Linked DNA regions of Homo sapiens: all the other regions are linked to region 2. Evidence: promoter capture Hi-C in 16 types of primary human blood cells and fetal thymus (Javierre and others, 2016). All regions are on one chromosome and are shown on one strand. The core of a region is centred on a gene start or on the middle of the fragment in contact, and the rest is flanking DNA. Distances in the headings are between cores, read along the strand shown.

What was found. The method cuts DNA at HindIII sites, captures the fragments that hold promoters and counts their contacts. A CHiCAGO score of 5 or more calls a contact.
Region 1: a contact is called between the fragment with the promoter of UBL5 here and the fragment with the promoter of ZNF561 in region 2, in 15 of 17 cell types (fetal thymus, naive CD4 T cells, total B cells and 12 more). The highest score is 13.1, in fetal thymus.
Region 3: a fragment that was not itself captured here is called in contact with the fragment with the promoter of ZNF561 in region 2 in 17 of 17 cell types (non-activated CD4 T cells, naive CD4 T cells, activated CD4 T cells and 14 more); the score reaches 19.3 in non-activated CD4 T cells.

Annotation. Positions count from the first base shown.
Region 1 is chr19:9,826,609-9,829,452 of GRCh38, forward strand. It overlaps UBL5 (ubiquitin like 5), which reads left to right and starts at 1,310. Exons shown (of 5, transcript NM_001048241.3): 1 at 1,310-1,376; 2 at 1,719-1,785; 3 at 1,984-2,067; 4 at 2,229-2,266. The coding sequence starts at 1,730. RefSeq lists enhancers at 892-1,616, 1,027-1,076 and a silencer at 1,120-1,426. The HindIII fragment of the contact is 5,434 bases long and covers 766-2,844 here.
Region 2 is chr19:9,619,975-9,622,829 of GRCh38, forward strand. ZNF561 (zinc finger protein 561) reads right to left here and starts at 1,258. Exons shown (of 6, transcript NM_152289.3): 1 at 1,188-1,258. It overlaps ZNF561-AS1 (ZNF561 antisense RNA 1), which reads left to right and starts at 1,508. Exons shown (of 4, transcript NR_122038.1): 1 at 1,508-1,671. RefSeq lists enhancers at 437-1,019, 1,168-1,587. The HindIII fragment of the contact is 2,809 bases long and covers 1-1,610 here.
Region 3 is chr19:9,799,956-9,802,699 of GRCh38, forward strand. LOC124904635 (a long non-coding RNA gene) reads left to right here. Exons shown (of 3, transcript XR_007067134.1): 3 at 1,967-2,461. Among named protein-coding and RNA genes, the nearest start is that of FBXL12, 18 kb to the right of the region's middle. The HindIII fragment of the contact is 5,219 bases long and covers 1-2,744 here.

The sequences.
Region 1 (2,844 bases), core at 60-2,559, 210 kb after region 2:
CACTCCAGCCTGGGCGACAGAGCGAGACTCCATAAATAAATAAATAAATAAATAAATAAAATTAAAAAAAAAACAGTAAAAATCCCACGGCCGGGGAAATCAGGACCAAACCAGTAAGGAGCAGCTCTTTAGGCATAAGCACGCGCATTAAAGACAAAAAGTATCCTTAACATGATAAGGATAACCAGCTCATTAGCGCTCATGCATATGGACGGCATATCATGAATGGAGGCGGCTCTCAAGCACACAGGGGCCAAAGTAAGCAACACACCTATCATTCAAAAAGGTAGACACTGGCTAGATATTAGGCAGCCTTGGGAAGAGAAAAAAAGCCTGGCCAATAAGGTGAAACCCCATCTCTACTAAAAGTACAAAAATTAGCCGGGCGTGGTGGCGGGCGCCTGTAATCCCAGCTACTTACTCGGGAGGCTGAGGCAGGAGAATCGCTTGAACCCGGAAGGCGGAGGTTGCGGTGAGCCGGCACCGCGCCATTGCACTCCAGCCTGTGCAACAGAGCGAGACTACGTCTCAGAAAAAAAAAAAAAAAAAGACCCAAACTATACCAAGCTGGGGCTGATCTTATCTCGCAGAGGTCAGTCCGCTCTCCCCACTCCGAGAGTGGAATACTGTGCTTAATAAACTTGCAGCTTTGCCATCTCTGTGTGTCTGGTCCAAATCTTTCTTCAGGACACCAAGAGCCTGGAACTGTCCGGCACCATGCGGTAACAGCAGCTGTTGGGCAGCGTAGAGTCTACTCTAGGATCAAGCTTCGCCTACTGACTGGAGTCCGTATCCCGGGGGAACGCGATGGCCAGAGGGAAGAGGTGAGCCAAATGCTCACCAAGCCCAGCCCTGAATGAACCCAGGGGGTCAGAAGGGATGACTGCAGAACTCGTCCCCCACCCCCACCCTCCGCCCTTGCTCCTAGTTGCCGCTGCAAGAGGCTTCGGGCTCAGGATCAGGAGCTTACCCCTACTCCCGGGACCCTCTGGCGTCCCCACCATGTGACCGAGTCTCCCTGCAACAAACAATGACTTCAAACGAGCTGGGCGCCGGCGCCTGACCTCTGACTCTCGCTCCACGCCCCTTCCCTGGCCACAAACCCGCCGAGGCCCCCCTCTCTACCCGGCGCGCCTACCACAGGCGCGACACCTGTCAAGCCTTGGGACACCGAAACCGTACCTGGGAACAGCAAACACACCACAGACTGCAGACCCGGAAGAACTTGTCCCAGTGTTGACCACACCCCCTGGCTAGGGGCAGGGCTTCCGGCCTCGAACTTTAACTTCCGCTTCCGGTTCCTAGCGTTAACTGCGACCGGGGTTCAGCGCTCGGGTGAGGAGCTGGTGGCGTCGGCAGGTTCGAGGCGATTCGAGGTGAGGGGGTCAAGCGGAGAGGCTCGGAGTCGGAGAAAGCTGTCGCGACCCAGCCACCCAGGGTCTGGGGTCGGTGGGAGGTGAGGCCAGGGAGTTTTGTGGCAGGGCTTTCAGGCGGCGAGAAGGGGCGGAGGCGCGGCTCCCCGGGGTTCGCGGCCCTGGGACAGGGGACTTGGGGCCTGGGAGTATTCGAGTCCGGGGGGTTGGGGGCAGAACGGAAGGCTCAGTAACCTGGAATTTTAGGGCCTGGGACTGGGAGACTTGTAGGCTGGGGCTTCTGGGCCTGGGAGACGCCTGAAGCTCTGACTTTGCTGCCTCCCACCCACCCCCCGCTTTGTGTAGCTCCAGCTAGGATGATCGAGGTTGTTTGCAACGACCGTCTGGGGAAGAAGGTCCGCGTTAAATGCAAGTATCCACTGGCAGCCGAGAGGCAGTGGTACCCGCAGGGGTGCTTGGCGTGAGGCAGGCAACTCAATCTGTGTTGTCGGATGGTTTTAGTTAAACCCGGGAGAGGGGGCGGATGGGGTCCTGGCAGATGGTATTCTGCCCTAGAATGTCCTCTTCCTCGTTCTACCGCTTCCATTTGCCTTAACTGCTCTGCGCCCAGCACGGATGATACCATCGGGGACCTTAAGAAGCTGATTGCAGCCCAAACTGGTACCCGTTGGAACAAGATTGTCCTGAAGAAGTGGTGAGTGCAGCGGTAGAGCCACTGGGTGGACTGGACTAGGCCGGAAGGTTTTGGTTGGGGGAGCGCTGCAGGCAGCCCTTTGCTTAGGCTTGGCTACCTCATTTGGCCTACAGACTGAAGAGCCTCCTTAGCCTTATCTCTGAAATGTCTCTTTTTCTTAGGTACACGATTTTTAAGGACCACGTGTCTCTGGGGGACTGTATCCTTTGTGTGACTTTTTGAGGAAGCATCTACATACCCAGCCTCGGTTATCTGTTCAAAACTAAAGTCTGCATGAGCTTATGCATATTAAGTGTTTAACTTAATACGTGGCACATGGTGAGCACTTAGAAAATGGGAGCTAGGTAATTATTTGGTTGGGGAGGAGAGTGGTTGGTGAAATAGTTTGACTTCAAGTTCAAAATATTTATTACTGACCTCCACCTGAGTGCTGGACAGTAGGTCAGGGTGGGGTGAGACTCAGGCATATCTATTGTGCAAAAGGAGCAGAAACTTTTTACAATTTTTATTTTATTTATTTATTTTTTTGAGACAGTCTGGCTCTGTCGCCCAGGCTGGAGTGCAGTGGCACGATCTTGACCCACTGCAACCTCCACCTCCCGGGTTCAAGCAATTCTGCCTCAGCTTCCCAAGTAGCTGGGATTACAGGTGTGTGCCACCACTCCCTGCTAGTTTTTGTATTTTTAGTAGAGATGAGGTTCCACCATGTATGCCAGGCTAGTCTCAAACTCCTGGCCTCAAGTGATCCTCCCGCCTCGGCCTCCCAAAGTGCTGGGA
Region 2 (2,855 bases), core at 8-2,507:
TTGAAATCCAATGGCACTAACACAACTCTCTGTAGCCTAGACTTCCCGGGCTCAAGTGATCCTCCCACTTCAGCCTCCTGAATAGCTGGGACCATAGGTGCGTATCATCACTCATTATTATTATTATTATTTTGAGACAGAGTCTCACTCTGTTGCCCAGGCTGGAATGCAGTGGCATGATCTCAACTCATTGCAACCTCTGCCTCCCAGGTGCAAGCGATTATCAGGCCTCAGCCTCCCGAGTAGCTGGGATTTCAGGTATGCACTACCATGCCTGGCTAATTTTTGCATTTTTAGTAGAGACGCAGTTTCGCCATATTGGCCAGGCTGGTCTTGAACTCCTGGCCTTAAGTGATTCTCCCACTTCAGCCCCCCAACTAGCTGGGACTACAGGTGCACACCACTGGGTCCGGCTAATTTTTTGTAGTTTTAGTAGAGACAAGTTTTCACCAGATTGCCTAGGCTAGTCTCAAACTCCTGGGCTCAAACAATCCTCCTGACTTGGCCTCCCAAAGTGCTGGGATAATAAGCATAAGCCACGATGCCTGGCCCATTACTTCTATTTAATACTGAAAAAAACCTACACTCAAACAACCCTAGTAGTCGGTCTGATACTTGTCCCTAGAGCCTGATCTCCTGTATATGGTGTTACCCCCCCGCCATATGACCAGAAGACAGTGCAGACCTGCACAGAACAATTCAGTAGTCACCAGCCACGTGTGTTATTGATAACTTCATTACGTACCTAAGATGACTTAAGAACAAAATCTAAAATTTTCAAAAGTCGGCCGGGTGCAGTGGCTCACACCTATAATCCCAGCACTTTGGGGGACCGAGGCAGACAGATCACCTAAGGTCAGGAGTTCAAGACCAGCCTGGCCAACATGGCAAAACCATCTCTACTAAAGATAGAAAAAGTAGCCGGGCGTGGTGGCACTTGCCTGTAATCCCAGGTACTCGGAAGGCTGAGGCAGGAGAACTGCTTGACCCTGGAGGCAGAGGTTGCAGAGGTTGCAGTGAGCCGAGAGAGCGCGCAGCCTCTCCGAACTGGACGCACAGGGAGGACTGATAGTCCCTGGAGAAGCGAGTGAAGTGAAGCGGATCTGAGAGGCTCCTAGGCGACAGCGCGCAATCATTCCTTTGCCGCCCCCTGCTATCCCCGGGACCGCCAAGGAGGTGGAACTCACCACAGCCTGGGCAGACTCCACCACCATAAAGGCGAAACCGCACTGACGGAGAGGAGCCAGCGCCGGAAAAGATGGCGGTGGTGCGCTGACGTCACTTCCGCTTCAACACTCTGGCCGGGCGAGGCTCGTGGGCTCCAGTTTCAGCCACGTAGGACCGGGTAGAACACAGAAATTCTAGTTTCCTCTCGGGTGGGTGCAGAAAGGGCCTGGGGTTGGCTCAGGGAGGGGGATGCAGAACTAGGTCCAGAGAAAAAGGTGAGGTTAGAACCGGGCCTCCAGACGGAACTGTGGGCGAGGGGAGGGGCTCGTACTCGGGGGGTGATTTAGAGGAGGGACCCGGCCTAGCCGGTGGTTCAGGTGGCCGGTCGGGCTGGAAGGGCGGGGATGAGGGATGGGACGCATCCCCGGGGGATGCTCCTCCAAAGCTTTTATCGGGCGAGCGCAGTGGCTCACGCCTGTAATTCCTGCACTTTGGGAGGCTAAGGTAGGTAAATAGCTTGAGTCTGCTGGGAATGGGTGCTCGCTTGGTGTCACAAAATCAACACTGAGACAAAGGATCTCAGCAAGGCTAGTTTTACTTTCTGCAGAATGGGTGCCACTGGCTGGCAGTCTTGCCACCAGAGCACACATTAACAAAGGAGACAGGGTTTTTTTAAACTTGAAGTGTCCATCCTTCTGCTGTGTCCAGCTTCCATTGGCTGGAACGGGACCTCACCTTCCTGTACTTCACTGGATTGGCTAGCAACTTAGAACTTCCCAAAAGAGGCAATGGCAGAGGAGAACAAAGGAAGAGAGGAAGTAACTTGTGGACTGTTGAGAGAGGCAAAAACACTTCTAAATAGGGAAAGGAATAGGCCATGACCTAATAGTTGCTTGGACCAGTTCAGGCATGCCAGGGCAAATATCTAGGCTAAAATGTGGGAGCTAAAAACAGAGTCTATTGATTTCTTTATTACGGCTGGCAGAATTTAACAATATTACCACAGGTCTTTGAGAAAATTTGGCTTCTAAGAGGGATTACTATTTATTTCAATCAGACTGGGAGGAAAGTCCCTTTGAAGAGGAACCTGTATTTATTTCATTTTCTACAAGTCCAAGAGTTTGAGACCAGCCTGGGCAAAGTAGCAAGACCCTGTCTCTCTCTCTCTCTCTCTCTCTATATATATATATATAAACATATATGTATAAATACATATAAATATATAAATATATAAAAAATATATAAATATACATGTTCAAAATGCTTGTTCCCTGGTGCCATAAAGAAATTAGCACTTGAACATAAATTTAATTTACTCAGCAAGGCCATTTTTACTTCCTGCAGAAACGGTATACTCACCAGCAGTTTTGCCACGAGAGTACACCAAACAAAGGAGATAGGGTCATTTATAACCTGATGCTTCCAACCTACTGCTGTGTCCAGTTTCCACTGGCTGGAATGGGACCTCACGTTCTGGCTAGCAACTTATAACTTTTTAAAAGAGGCAAGGGTAGAGGAGAACAAAGGAAGGAGGAAGTAACTTGTGGAATGCTGAGAAGGGTCAAAACATCTTCAAATAAGGAAAAAGAACAGGCTATGCCCTAATGCTTGCCTGGACCAGTACAAGCATGCCAGGGCAAATATGTAGACTAAACTGTGGGAGCTAAGAATATAAAGTACATTGATTT
Region 3 (2,744 bases), core at 158-2,657, 180 kb after region 2:
TTTTTTTTTTTGAGATGGAGTTTCACTTTGTCGCCCAGGCTGGAGTGCAGTGGCGCGATCTCGGCTCACTGCAAGCTCCGCCTCCCAGGTTCACACCACTCTCCTGCCTCAGCTTCCTGAGTAGCTGGGACTACAGGCGCCCGCCACCACGCCCAGGTAATTTTTTTGTATTTTTAGTACAGACGGGATTTCACTGTGTTAGCCAGGATGGTCTCAATCTCCTGACCTCGTGATCCGAGCACCTTGGCCTCCCAAAGTGCTGGGATTACAGGCGTGAGTCACTGCACCCGGCCAAGATGGGGTTTTATCATGTTGACCAGGCTGGTCTTGAACTCCTGACCTCAGGTGATCCACCTGCCTCAGCCTCCCAAAGTGCTAGGATTATAGGTGTGAGCCACTGTGCCCAGCCAATTTTCGTACTTTTAGTAGAGACGAGGTTTGACCATGTTTGCCAGGCTGGTCTGGAACTCCTGACTTCAGGTTATCCGTCCACCTCAGCCTCCCAAAGTGCTGGGATTACAGGTATGATGAAAATGCTTTTTCAAGTGATAACTTTCCAATAGGGAAGGAAGGTTTAAAGGTAAGTTTCAAAAAGCACCTGCTTGAGATGAAATGTAATACCATAGGTCTCCAGAAGACAACAGCGCATCACTTGGTTTGCCTTATAAATCCTTAATTCTCAAAACACAGGAATTAAGAGAAACAGCGAACATTTGTAGACCTCTTCACCCTTCGTTAGGGGGAAAGTGAAAATAACTATTTGCTGGGCATCTCTTGTTCTTTTCTATTTTTATTATTTTAATTGATGTCCCATTCCAGGATGTTGGGCATCTATTGTTTCATCTGGACACTATTTTATATCTGTGATCTACTTTATTTATTTATTTTCCTTTTTTTTTTTTTAAGAGACGGAGTCTCCCTCTGTTACCCAGGCTGGAGTGCAGTGGTGTGATCTTGATTCACTGCAAACTCCGCCTTCCGAGTTCAAGCAATTCTCCTGCCACAGCCTCCCGACTAGCTGGGATTACAAGCACGCACCACTATGCCCGGATAACTTTTTGTATTTTTAGTAGAAACGAGGTTTCACCGTGTTAGCCAGGCTGGTCTCGAACCCTTGACATCAAGTGATCCGTCCGCCTCGGCCTCCCAAAGTGCTGGGATTACAGGCGTGAGCCACCGTGCCCGGCCTATTCATTTTTCTTTTTTCTATTTCTTTTTTTTTTTATATAGAGAAGGAGTCTCAGTCTGTCACCCAGGCTGGAGTGCAGTGGCGCCATCTCGGCTCACTGCAACCTCCGCCTCCCAGGTTGAAGCGATTCTCCTGCCTCAGCCTCCCGAGTAGCTGGGATTACAGGTGTGCACCACCACGCGCAGCTAATTTTTGTATTTTATTGGGTTTTTGGTTTGTTTTGTTTCGTTTGAGACAGAGTTTTGCTCTTGTCGCCCAGGCTGGAGTGCAATGGCACCATCTCGGCTCACTGCAACCTCCGCCTCCCGGATTCAAGCTATTCTGGTGCCTCAGCCTCCCAAGTAGTTGGGATTACAGGCGCCCGCCACCACGCCCAACTAATTTTTTGTATTTTTAGTATAAGCGGGTTTCACAATATTGTTCAGGCTGGTCTCGAGCTCCTGACCTCAGGTGATCCACCCGCCTCGGCCTCCCAAAGTGCTGGGATTACAGGCTTGAGCCATCGCGCCCGGGCTATTTATTTTTCTTTTTTTAATTTTAATTTTAATGTTTCATAGAGACAGGGTCTCCCCATGTTGCCCAGGCTGGTCTAGAACTCCTGGGCTCAAAGGACCCTGCCTCAACCTCCCAAAGTGCCAGGATTACAGGTGTGAGCGACTGCGTCTGGCCTACATTTGTGATTTAAATCAGCACATTTCTCATCTCTCAGAACTCCTCAATAACCATCGGTTGGAAAAAAGAGCAAAAAACCTAAATGTATTTATATGTAATCTCTAGGAGTTAACCTCACCGAAAGATACAACCGATTTAAGAAGAAAATGTTAAAACTCTCTTCAAGGGCCTATAGAAGAAACGGGATGAATGGAAACGTGATTCACTCTGTGGACTGGCAGATACCTCTGGAAATCTGGTGTTCTATTGTAATAAGTTCTCGGGAAGGTAGAGACTTTTATTTGGGACATAGAGGCTTGGCCAACCAGAATGGAGGACCCACCCAAGTCCCGCCCCCAAGCCTGAGCCCTCTCCTTTGCTCCACCCACTCTGCCTGAAGTCCCCTCAACCCCTCCGACTTCGCAGTCTCCCAGCCCGGCCTTCTGGGGCTGGTCTTCATTGGAAGCCACGCCCCCAGGTCTGTCGGATAAACATTTTACAACCTATTCTCTCTGAAGTCTAGTACCTGGAGGCTTCCTCTGGAAATAAGAACTTGGGTCTCCCGCCTGGCCAACATGACGAAACCCCGTCTCTACTAGAAATACAAAAATTAGCCGGTCGTGGTGGCACACACCTGTAATCCTAGCTACTCAGGAGGCTGCGGCAGGAGAATTGCTGGAACCCGGTAGGCGCAGGTTACAGTGAGCTGAGGTCGTGCCACTGCACTCCAGCCTGGGCGACAGAGCGAGACTGCGTCTCCGAAAAAAAAAAAAAAAAAAATTAGCCGGGCATGGTGGCGGGCGCCTGTAATCCCAGCTATTCTGGTGGCTGAGCCAGGAGAATCGCTTGAACCCGGGAGGTGGAGGTTGCAGTGAGCCGAGATGGTGCCATTGCACTCCAGGCT